Regions from separate parts of the Homo sapiens genome. Here region 1 is linked to region 2. Evidence: promoter capture Hi-C in 16 types of primary human blood cells and fetal thymus (Javierre and others, 2016). All regions are on one chromosome and are shown on one strand. Each heading gives the region's core, a stretch centred on a gene start or on the middle of the fragment in contact. The rest is flanking DNA. Distances are from core to core; before and after follow the strand shown.

What was found. Contacts are between HindIII fragments. The CHiCAGO score rates a contact against its expected background, and 5 or more counts as called.
Region 1: a contact is called between a fragment that was not itself captured here and the fragment with the promoter of LINC01124 in region 2, in 1 of 17 cell types (total B cells). The highest score is 11.1, in total B cells.

What each region holds. Positions count from the first base shown.
Region 1 is chr2:176,072,089-176,077,291 of GRCh38, reverse strand. No RefSeq gene overlaps it. Among named protein-coding and RNA genes, the nearest start is that of EVX2, 9.3 kb to the left of the region's middle. RefSeq lists enhancers at 610-1,950, 4,122-4,622. The HindIII fragment of the contact is 1,123 bases long and covers 1,780-2,902 here.
Region 2 is chr2:170,713,036-170,717,869 of GRCh38, reverse strand. It overlaps LINC01124 (long intergenic non-protein coding RNA 1124), which reads left to right and starts at 3,303. Exons shown (of 1, transcript NR_027433.1): 1 at 3,303-4,834. It overlaps SP5 (Sp5 transcription factor), which reads right to left and starts at 2,533. Exons shown (of 2, transcript NM_001003845.3): 1 at 2,307-2,533; 2 at 1-1,611. The coding sequence starts at 2,357. The coding sequence ends at 466. The region is part of intron 5 of ERICH2-DT (ERICH2 divergent transcript); the gene reads left to right. RefSeq lists enhancers at 582-1,371, 1,372-2,159, 2,160-2,949 and a silencer at 3,167-3,216. The HindIII fragment of the contact is 7,273 bases long and covers 1-4,834 here.

The DNA.
Region 1 (5,203 bases), core at 1,092-3,591, 5.4 Mb before region 2:
TAGGAGACATGCACTCTTCCAAACATTGGTTTAACGTTAATTGGCTGGCTAAACAGATAAGAGTGTTTAGGAGTAGTGTGTGTGTCGATACACATGGTAGAGGACGTGCCGTCATATATATAGGGAGTGTGTACACAGGGTTAGGAGCTGTTTATGTTTGCAGTACTACAAAGGTAAACAAAATTAATTCCTCTATCTAATTAACTTGCCCACTTTTATTCTCCCACTTATGAAGTAAATATTAATATTTAATTCAAGGAAAAAGTTCACTCTTAATAGGAGCTCAGCCCTCTTCAAGCTCAGCCCTCCCTTACTAGTTCCATCTCCTTTGGTCTCTTTTAGGGGTGTACAGCACATTCTTCAAACTTAAGTAGTGTTTCTGTTTGCTGAGGATAAAGGATGCTGTGAACATTTTACCAAATTGGCTATGAGTATTTCAAGCAACTGGATATTTAAAAATATGATTTCCCCTCTTCCTTCTTTCTTTTGCTTTGGTACTTCAGCCCTGTTTTTCTTTCCCAATCCTATCTTCTTTCCCGAGTTCAGTCCACCTCTTCGTGTATTTACAGATCTGTCTTAAAATCGATATTTCGATGGCAAAATGCAAGAGTCAATGGTGTGTGCAAAGCAGTCTATTCGATTTAAAAACCAAGATGTCCCTTCCTCGAAATTTTCTTTTTCCAACTGCTCACCCTGGCATTAATTACAACGATGAGGACACTACTGGGAATACAGAGGCTGCGATCACAAGCCATTTTGGCCTGTAATTTACCATTATTATTGCATTAGCTCTAAATGATACAAGCTGATACCGTCTTTAATTGCAGGTTGGTTAAATATATACTGAAGTAATCCCAAGGGTTCCCTCCCCCTCGATAAATTCTTTTCTCTCTTTCCCCTTCTCTCTTTTCTTGAACTCCCCCATTAAAGAAATACGATTATAGCAGCACATTTGGACTGGTGATGTATCACCCTGGTTTTCGGTGCTCTTTGCTAACTCGGGGGTTGTAACCCTTAAAAACAAAAGCATTGAGATAGATGGGCCAGCAAACGGAAAAAGACAGTGGCCAAAAAACCCTGTCCAAAATAACAGCATTTTTTTTGTCTCGAGTGTGCAAAGAATGAAAAAATAATTCATCATAAAATGCAGAAGACTGTCTGTCATCAAGCCCGAATTGTTTTTGACAAGAAAATAAATCTGTAGGTTGTTTAATATATTTTATATTTTCTTTATTTCGTCGCTAATGGAAAAACCAAATTAAATGTCCACTAGCGAGATAGAAATGCAAAGATCGATGATCCACCCCCCTACTGTCCAATCACCCCTATTTAATTGACTGTATTTTCTGGGTAATTGAACTGCTTGTTGTAAATTGAAGATTTTATAGAAACGACATGAAAACTACATTTACTGACATTCATCGCATCTTTGACATTGATTATCTGATCAACGCATGTCACGGTAACCTCCAATTCTTCATTACACACTGTTTATGAGCTGTTACAGAACAACTTGCTTGTTCCAGGGTGATTGATTGCCTTATTAACGCGTGTTCTTGTAAGTGTGACCGAACTGATTACGATGCATATGTTTAGAATAATGTTTCATTTAGCTGACTGCGAGTAATGCAGGGTGACAGCTGCTGCAGGGAGGACAAAAAAACCTGAACTACAGGGCGCGTTTGGGACCAAAAAGCCCAAGTTATTTAAGGTGGAACGGACCACCCCGAGAGGAAATTCCAGAGCTTGTTGCTGCTCCTTAGTCGCTCGGAGGAAGCTTACCCTGGCATCCCCGCCCTCCAAACTCAGAAATATGAAACATTTGATGAAACAATCGCTACCCTCTGCAATTAAATAAGTTATGAAGACTAAATATATGGTAAGGGTTTTCCTCTTGTTACTTCTCTTCCATAAATTGTATTTCTTTTTCTTCCCATAATGCTCCGGTGTCCTGGATTTTTAGGTGCAAAAAGAACAAGCAAAGAAATTTACCTTTGTAAAAATCTACTTACTTACACACAGCTCCAAACTCAAAATTCTTCAGTCTGCTATGGATTCCAGGAAAGGTGTCCTTTCAATCCTACCCATCCTGAATCCGCTAAAGGAAGACTTATAACTCTCCCTCCCGCTAAAACTTGAGTCCCTTTCCTGGGCTTTCTGAGGAAGGAAAGTGACCTTTTCCTTTGCCAAGGCCCTGAGCGTTTTTCCTAGGCCGATCAGGTCAGAAGCTGGAGTGCATTTTGGTTTTAGGCTGAACCTTTATTGGCAGCTCTCCCAAACCCCAGTCATCAAAGGCCTACACCTGGAGACCCTGGAGAGCAGCGTAGGGCTCACGCTATAATTTGTCTGTTAATGTTATGAGCCATGATTTGATCAGAAGTGGGGATCTACTTTCAAGTAGCATTCTGAGTTTCCTCTCATAAGGAACCAAAGAAGGGGACATAGAGCCCTGCAGTGGTCATGAGAAGTCAGTCTCTTTTCCTTTCCTCTTTTTCCACCTAGGACTGGCTGCACAATTTTTGGTCCCAGTGCAAAATGAACATGTGGGCCCCTTGTTCAAAAGTTATTAGGAATTTCAAGAGGGCAACAACAGAACATCAAATCAAGCTGGGGGGTGGCTTTTAAGCCCATCACCCTGTGTGACTACAAAGATCCCCACCCACGAAGCCTGCCCTGTCTCACCCCCTCTCAGATGGAGAGACTCCCCTTGAGTTTAAATAACTTATCCCAATAAAAGACTGGCTTGGGAGTAGAGAGGGAGAAATGTAGGGGGTTATGGCTCCTGGGGGCACCTCCCCTTTCTTCAGTGACCTTTTGGCCTGATCCCTTCTCTTTCTTTGGAGCCACTCTCACCTCAGCTTCTCTGACCTAAGGTCTGGGTCCAAAGAATCTCATGGAAGCTTCCTGAACCACTTCTGAGGTGGGAAGGGTCACCCTCTCTTCCAGCTTCCTTTACACCAATTTGCAAAGTATCCACAACTAAGCTCATCATCCCTGACTTAGGAAAACCAGAATCAAGGTGTCTCTGCCTGTGACGGAAACCCAGGGGAGGAGGGGTGGTGGCGGGGGTGGGTTGGGAGGATAGTCCAGTCTGCAAACGAGAAAAGGGGCAGGCTGGTGTTTCTGAGGTTTGAACTCAGAGCAGGCACTTTGGAGTAAAACCAGTGACCTCCAGACCCTGTGGTATTCCCAGCCAAGTTGGGGAGGGCTGGCAGTGGGGGTCTTGGTTTTCCTGGAGCGATGGGAAAGCATGCTGTGAAAATGCTTTTTATAGATTCTCCCACCTCCACCCCAATCTTATTTTAATAAATACATCCTCAGGCATTATTTACAAGCTCACATAATTTACCTATGCTATTTGGCAAAGCAACTTCGCAAAAGAAAGTGAATGAATAAATACTTCATAACTGCTGGTAGAGCAGACTGGGTCCTGTAATGAAGAAAAGATTTATGTCACCTTATTTCAGCCCAAATAGCAGCAGCCTCGGCTTGTCTCAGCCCAGTGCTTCTATTTAAATGTTACTTTCATATATTATGTGGCATTAATTTAACTATAGCTCATTAAGGCAGAATGAAATGGTTAAATTAACTTATCAACCCATAATGATGATGAATGAGGTATTAATTCAGATACAAGCTGGGCAATTTGCAAGTTTACGCATTGTGATGGTTCTCAAATAACATTTTGAATAGCGGGTCAGCGCCTCAATCAATTACATAAGCATGTAAAGTTGGTCTCTCAGAAAAAAAATCCTTTTTCATGCATATGCATTAAAACATGTTCGCAATTATCCTCGGAAATTGCCTTCATTGGATTAAGCAGCAGCCTTGGACGCGGGTTCTGATCTTCCCTGGGCTTTTATTAAAGCTCTGAGCAGCTTTGGCAATAACAGGGCGGATGGGCTGTTTGTTTAAAGAGTGTTTACCAAAGAAAAGGGCCGACGGGGTGTGCTGGTTGATAAACAGGGATCTACCTCCTTGGGAGAAGTTGTTAGGAATCGTCTGACTGCCCCGAGGCTGAGGAGGGAACCCTGTCAGCCCAGACATCGGCTCCGGGGCTTCGGCTTTCCGGGCTAGTAATTAACTGCCACCTCAAAACCAGCCTTGGGTTCAGGCTGTGCTCGCCAGGGAGATACCGTGCCCGGCCCAGCGTTCGCCCACTAGGGGACTCGGGCGGGGGGACGGGTAGGCACACAGGCAGCCTCCTGCGATCCTTGGTTCATCCAAGCCAGACCAGCAAATGACTTACTTAGTCCTGGGATGGGGGCTCTGGAGGGGGATTTAATGAGCCCTTTGGCAGGAGCTGATTCAGGGCGGCGGTGACCCGTTGTTTCCACCTTCATGCCAAGACGGTTGGCGAATCTCTGCGGATATCCTGCTCGGTTTGACAACTTTGTGTGGGAGAAGAGTTAGCCCAGGTTCAACTCTGGAGTGGAAGCTACAGGAGGGCAGGGCTTGGCCTCAGATATCTCATCTGCAACCCCACCCCAATCCCGACCCCGACCCCGACCCCCAAGCAGGCCTGGTTTGCCCTCCCTGTTCATGAGGCCTAACTTAAGTTCTCTCTGGAGAAAAGTAAAAATAAAAAAGTCAGAGGCCACGGCAGAAGGCTTTGCGGAAGGGCAGGAGGGATTAAAATGAGTTTTTCTGGGACCTCCTTCTATTCCTCTGCCCCATTTTAAAAAATCTTGGTGAAAATAGGGCAGTTAAATAAAACTTTGGCACTTTCCATATGCCACGTACTGCCAAGAGCATACATTAACTCATTTAATTTTCACCACACTCATACGAAATAGTTTCCATCATTATCCCCATTTTACAGAGGGGTAAACTGGGCTGTGGGATGAACACTTTTCCCAGAGTTGAATATTGCACTGCCCAGATCATGAGTTTCACGCTCTCAGCTACTCCGCTAAGCTGCCCCAGAAGGCTTCCCTTCAAAGAGAGGTGTGTGGGTGACACTGCAGTTCCATAATGGGGCACCCACGGAGGTAGATCTGCATTTGTGTAGGTAGGAAGGACCCTAGTCCGGGTTCCTGAGCAATTCTGCTCCTCTTGGGCAGGCAGAAGGCTATTCGGGTGACTGCAGTCCGGGCGGAAGAGGCGGTCAGGGGTGAGGTGGCCTATCCCCCAACCCCGACCTCATTTTAGGGTCTCTCCCAGGCAGGTCTTTCCCCTCTTTGGATGGGTCAGCTCTGTGGAG
Region 2 (4,834 bases), core at 2,054-4,553:
AACATTTTTATTAATGTTATAATTATTATAATTATCTTTAACAAAGCTATTAAATAACCTGTACAAAGCCCAAACCGGTCCTAGCGAAAACCCGAGCACTGTTTCAAATCTCCCAAGTTCCTTTCTATTCAGTTCAGCAGCATTTCCTATATACAAGGCCAGACCAGGGTGGTCCCCCGAAACTGTAGGTCTCCCTGACGGTGGGAACGGTTTAGAGTTTGGAACCGCCCTGGCGTACGGCAGAGCTCCCAATTACAATCCAAATGCCCCAGCCCCAACCCTACCTCCCCGCTCCTGGGAACTGGGTCCCTATGTCCGAAGGCAGCGGAAGTTGGAAGCCTGGCTCCATTTTGGGAGGCAGGCAACGGAGAGGGTCCGTCTGCTGAGTCTCCCCTCCGCCAGCTGCCCACAGGTCCCCGGATCTCTCGCAGAGGTGCTGGGAAGGGGGTCCACCTCCGGGAGGGCTCACAGGTCCCGCGCGTCCTCCCGCTTAACCCCGGCCTCAGCGACTTTGAGCTTCTTATTCTGGTGAGTCTTGACGTGCTTCGCGAGGTGGTCGCTGCGCATGAAGCGCTTGCCGCACTCGGGACAGGCAAAGCGCTTCTCGCCCGTGTGAGTCCGCAGGTGCCGCTGCAGCTCGTCCGAGCGCGTGAAGCTCTTCCCGCAGAAGAGCCAGTTGCACACGAAGGGTCGCTCGCCCGTGTGCCAGCGCAGGTGCGCCTTCAGGTGCGACGTCTTCCCGTACACCTTGCCGCAGCCCGGCACGTGGCACACGTGCTGCTTCTTCTTCCCCGGCTCCGCCTCGGGGGCGCCGCCCGCCGCCTGGCAGTTGGGACAGCGGCAGCGGCGGCACCTCCTGGCCGTGGCCGCCAGGGGGGCCTTGGTCTGCAGCAGCGCGGCGATCTGGCTCTGGTACTGCGCAAAGTCCGACGGGCCCAACACCAGGCCTCTTTGTAGGGCGGCGGCGGCCGCAGCAGCAGCGGCCGCAGAGGCGGGGAAGCGGGGCGCGTGGGGGGCCCCGGCACAGGCGCCGGAGAGGCCGCTTCCCGGAACCCCGGAGGCCCCCGGCCCGGCGCCCGCCTGCGGGATGCTCCACCACGGGAGGTCGTCGGGGGCCGGGTTGGGTGACAACTGGCGGCAGGTGGGCGGCGGGGGCGGTGGCGGCGGCGGAGGCAGCAGGTTGGAGTAGCCTGGCGGCAGCGCGGCCTGCGCCGCGTAGGGCACGTAGGCGGGCGCGCAGCTGGCGGGCAGAGCCGCCATGCTCGAGGGCAGCATCTTGACCGGCGAGAACTCGTAGGGGTACGAGGGGTCGGCGGGGGGTGTAAGGGGAAGCTCGTGCGCAGCCCCGAAGGACGGCTGCAGGTGCGTCTTCTGCGGCGTCAGCCCCAAGCTGGGATGCGGGGGCGGCAGTGCGCCTGGCGAGTGCGCCGGCATGTCGGCGGTCCACGGGTGGAAGAGCCTGGAGGGTGAGCCCAGCGCGGGGTCGTAGGGCACCTGCAGGAAGTCCGGGGGCGCCGCCGCGCCCGGCTGGCCGATGCGGCTACAGGTGGCGGCCAGCAATGCCAGGGGCGAGTGCTTGCCCAGGTCCGGGGAGGCGCTGGGGGTGCGGTCCTGCATAGGCGGCGAGGGAGGGCGGAGAAGAGACAAAAGGTTAGCTCCAAGCGCGGACTCCGGGCCAGCCCGCCGCCCCCACGCCCGCTATTATACCGCCGCCCCTCCTCCGTCCCGGCCGTCCCTCCCCCGCCACCGCACCCCACGCACGCACCCACCGGCCGAGGGAAACTTTTGGTGCCTGCGCTACCTGAACGTGGGGCCCGCGAGCGCTTCTTGCTAAACTACTTGGTGCACTGAGACGCCATCCAGCCTTAGAGGAAGCAGGCGCGAAGTGGGAGGGGGAGGCATCCGACGGGCCCCTCCCGGCTCCGTGGTCAGTAAGAGTCGGGAAACACCCACAACCCCGCCGGCCGGCCGCTCTCCCTCCCATCTTTTAAGCTCTCTTGTCCTCACTGCCTTCGCGCTCCTCCCTGGCCCGCCCCAGGCTGAAATCAGCAGGAGGGCCCAGCAGGGTGAGCTCCGGTCCTGTTCTCGGCCAGCCGGGCACCTCCGAACAATCCCGGATCCACGCGTCCCTCCAGCAAAGGCCACACCGGATTAGGTGTGAAGTTGGCGTGGGCACCCCTAGGCCTGGCTCCAGCTGCACCCATCGGCGGGGTTCCCTTTGAGGTTCAAGGTGCACGGAGTACCAGGAGAGATCCGGACACGGCCCTTTCCACCTTTCTCCCGCCCCCTCCGGGCTCGGCCCTGACCTGGAGAAAGGCCTGCAGCGAGTCGTTCCGGAGGACGGCCACCGCGGCCATGGCTACGGCTTGCAGGCCCCTGGCTGCGGAGCGGGACGCCGCCGCCGAGGCATGGACACCCGAAGGCGAGGACGAAGGGCCGCCCAGCCTGCCTCCCTGGCGCCTGCTCTGAGCGCCGGGGCCCTCCCCGCCCTTGCCCCTCGCCGCGCCCCGCTCGCTCGCCCCGCGCGCGGTCTGAGCGCTTCAGGATCACCTCCAAGAATTTGATAAGGACTTTGCTGGGCCGCCAGCCAGTCAGAGGGAAGATTTATGGCTTTGAAGTTTGCCGCTACCCAATCATCAAAGAATAGCGGCTCTTTCAGAAGCGAAAGCAAATCCTTTGAATCCACAAAGCTCCTATGGTGTGTTTGTTGGTCTGGATAAAAGAACTGATTATTAGGGGGGATGGGAAGGGAGGAGATAAAGGCGGGACAATTAATGAAGTAATCACTATGTGGGAAATGTATATACACAAATAATTGGATTTTCCTGATCAAAGGGGGCCTTGCCGCCTGGAGACCCGCGCTTGGGTTGCTCGAGACACTCTTCCCGCCCCCCCCAACATACACACACACACACACACACACACTTGCAATTAAAGATTTGCACCGACGCAGCGCCCAAAGTGACAAAGTGTCTTTGTTATCTCTGGAAAAATCTGCCTTCGGCTTCCAGGCGCCGGACTTTGAGACGGCAAAGAGTGTAACTCTCCCCTGTATTTACTTGCACACCCTGCACCCTCGCCGCACACGCACCCGCCCGCGCACACAGCGGACCCAAGCGAGATCCCCGGTGGGGCGTGGGACCGACAGCGCCCGGCCCGCCGCGTGTCCCCCGCCCGCCGCGGTGGGGCCGAGGGCAGGGCTGTGACCTGGGGCGGGGCCGGGCGGCCGCCCAGCGCGGCGTTGGGTGGCGCGCACGCTCCAGGGCCGCCCGCCTGACGAGCGACCGGGGCTCTCCTGTGACGTTCCTGCTGGCGACCTGGAAGTTTTCCTCAGGCCACAACTTTTGCAGAGTGGACCTGGGAAAAACACCCGCGCCGCGCATACCCTCAAAGCTGAGCTCGGCAGGACACCCAAGGCGACCCGTCATGCCCACCCGAGGGGAAGAAGCTGTGCTGTCCCGCCCCCTTCTCCCCAGGCCACCCAGGAGGCCCGGGCTGGGCTGTGGGGGGCCGAAAGCCCCAGCGCTGCTGGTGATTTCTCGCCCGGAGCCCCGCCAAGCCAGCGCGCCCTCTCGCAAGCCTGGCAGACCAGGAGCTACTGGAAAAAAGGCGCGGTCGAGGAAGCCTGGTTGTTGTGGTCCCACAAACCACAAATCATACGAGAGAGGATCCCGAAGGCGGGAGAAAAGTCAGTACAGACTTGTTCCTGCCACCTTTGGAAAGAAAAAGTTCCTCACCAGGCGCGGGGCGTGCTTTGCTCTGGGCAGGGTCGCGCTTGCAGGGGCTTGGGTGACCCCCATCCCTCCCTGGCGGCTCACCTCCTGCCGAGGAGGGCCACCTGCCTCCTCCTGGCCCAGGGCGCAGGGCGCGTCCTGCCCCGGCACTGCGGACGCGGGGATCGCCTCTCCCGGGCGCGCGGGCGGGGAAGGAGGAAGAGGCGGGCGGGGAACCGCGGGGTGCTCACCGCCCTGGGGCATTAGGGGTGCGGAACCGCGTTGGAGGCCTCGCGGCCCCGGCTCGCGAGAGCGCACTGCGGAGTGGCCGCCGGAGCTCGGCCTACTCCTCTCCCCCACCCACCTCCCGTCGGACACAGTCTCCACTCTCCAGGCCGCCGGCCGTGGGGGAGCCCCTAATCAGTTCGCGCCCGGCCTCTCTGCCCGTCTTCCTCACGGGAACCGCACTGCGACCGGGACGGACGGGGTGACCTATCTCCCGATGCAGCGTCAGAGGTTAGCCTAACTACAACGGACTCGGAATCTGGACTGTATAAGGATGCCCTCCGCACTTCCATCAGGGGTCGGGGATGCGATGCCTCCGGGCCCACCTTCTCCCACGCCCAGGGCGCGCCTGCGGAATGAGAATATCGTACTCAAGACGGGTGGGCTGCTTGCGACCCAAATACAATGGGTCCCTCGCACATCCTGCACTCGCACGCCCCCTTCTCCCCCAACGAGTTGTCCCCTCTAAAACGCGAGCGGCGACCACACAACTTGGCCGACCCGATCTGGCTTCTGAAGATGAGGTCGGCTGCTCTGGGAGCGGAGAAGGGGAGAGAGCTTAGTGGTTTCATCCGAGGCCTGGCCAACCTGCTCCTTCCCACGCTCCCGTCCAGGATTTGAGTCTTGGAGAAGCGTGAGACTCGAGGGAGCTCTTCCCTGGATGCAAGTCGGAGGCCAGGGAGCCCCTTGGCACACACTCGCGCCTGCACATGCTTGCACCCTCGAAGCGATCTGGTTCCTTAGCGCTGGTTTCCTTTCCAGCTTCTTTGAGATCTTCGAAGTCCCCTTTCCCAGGGAGGCGGGCAGGGCCGGGCTAAGCAGGATGGAAGGCAGCC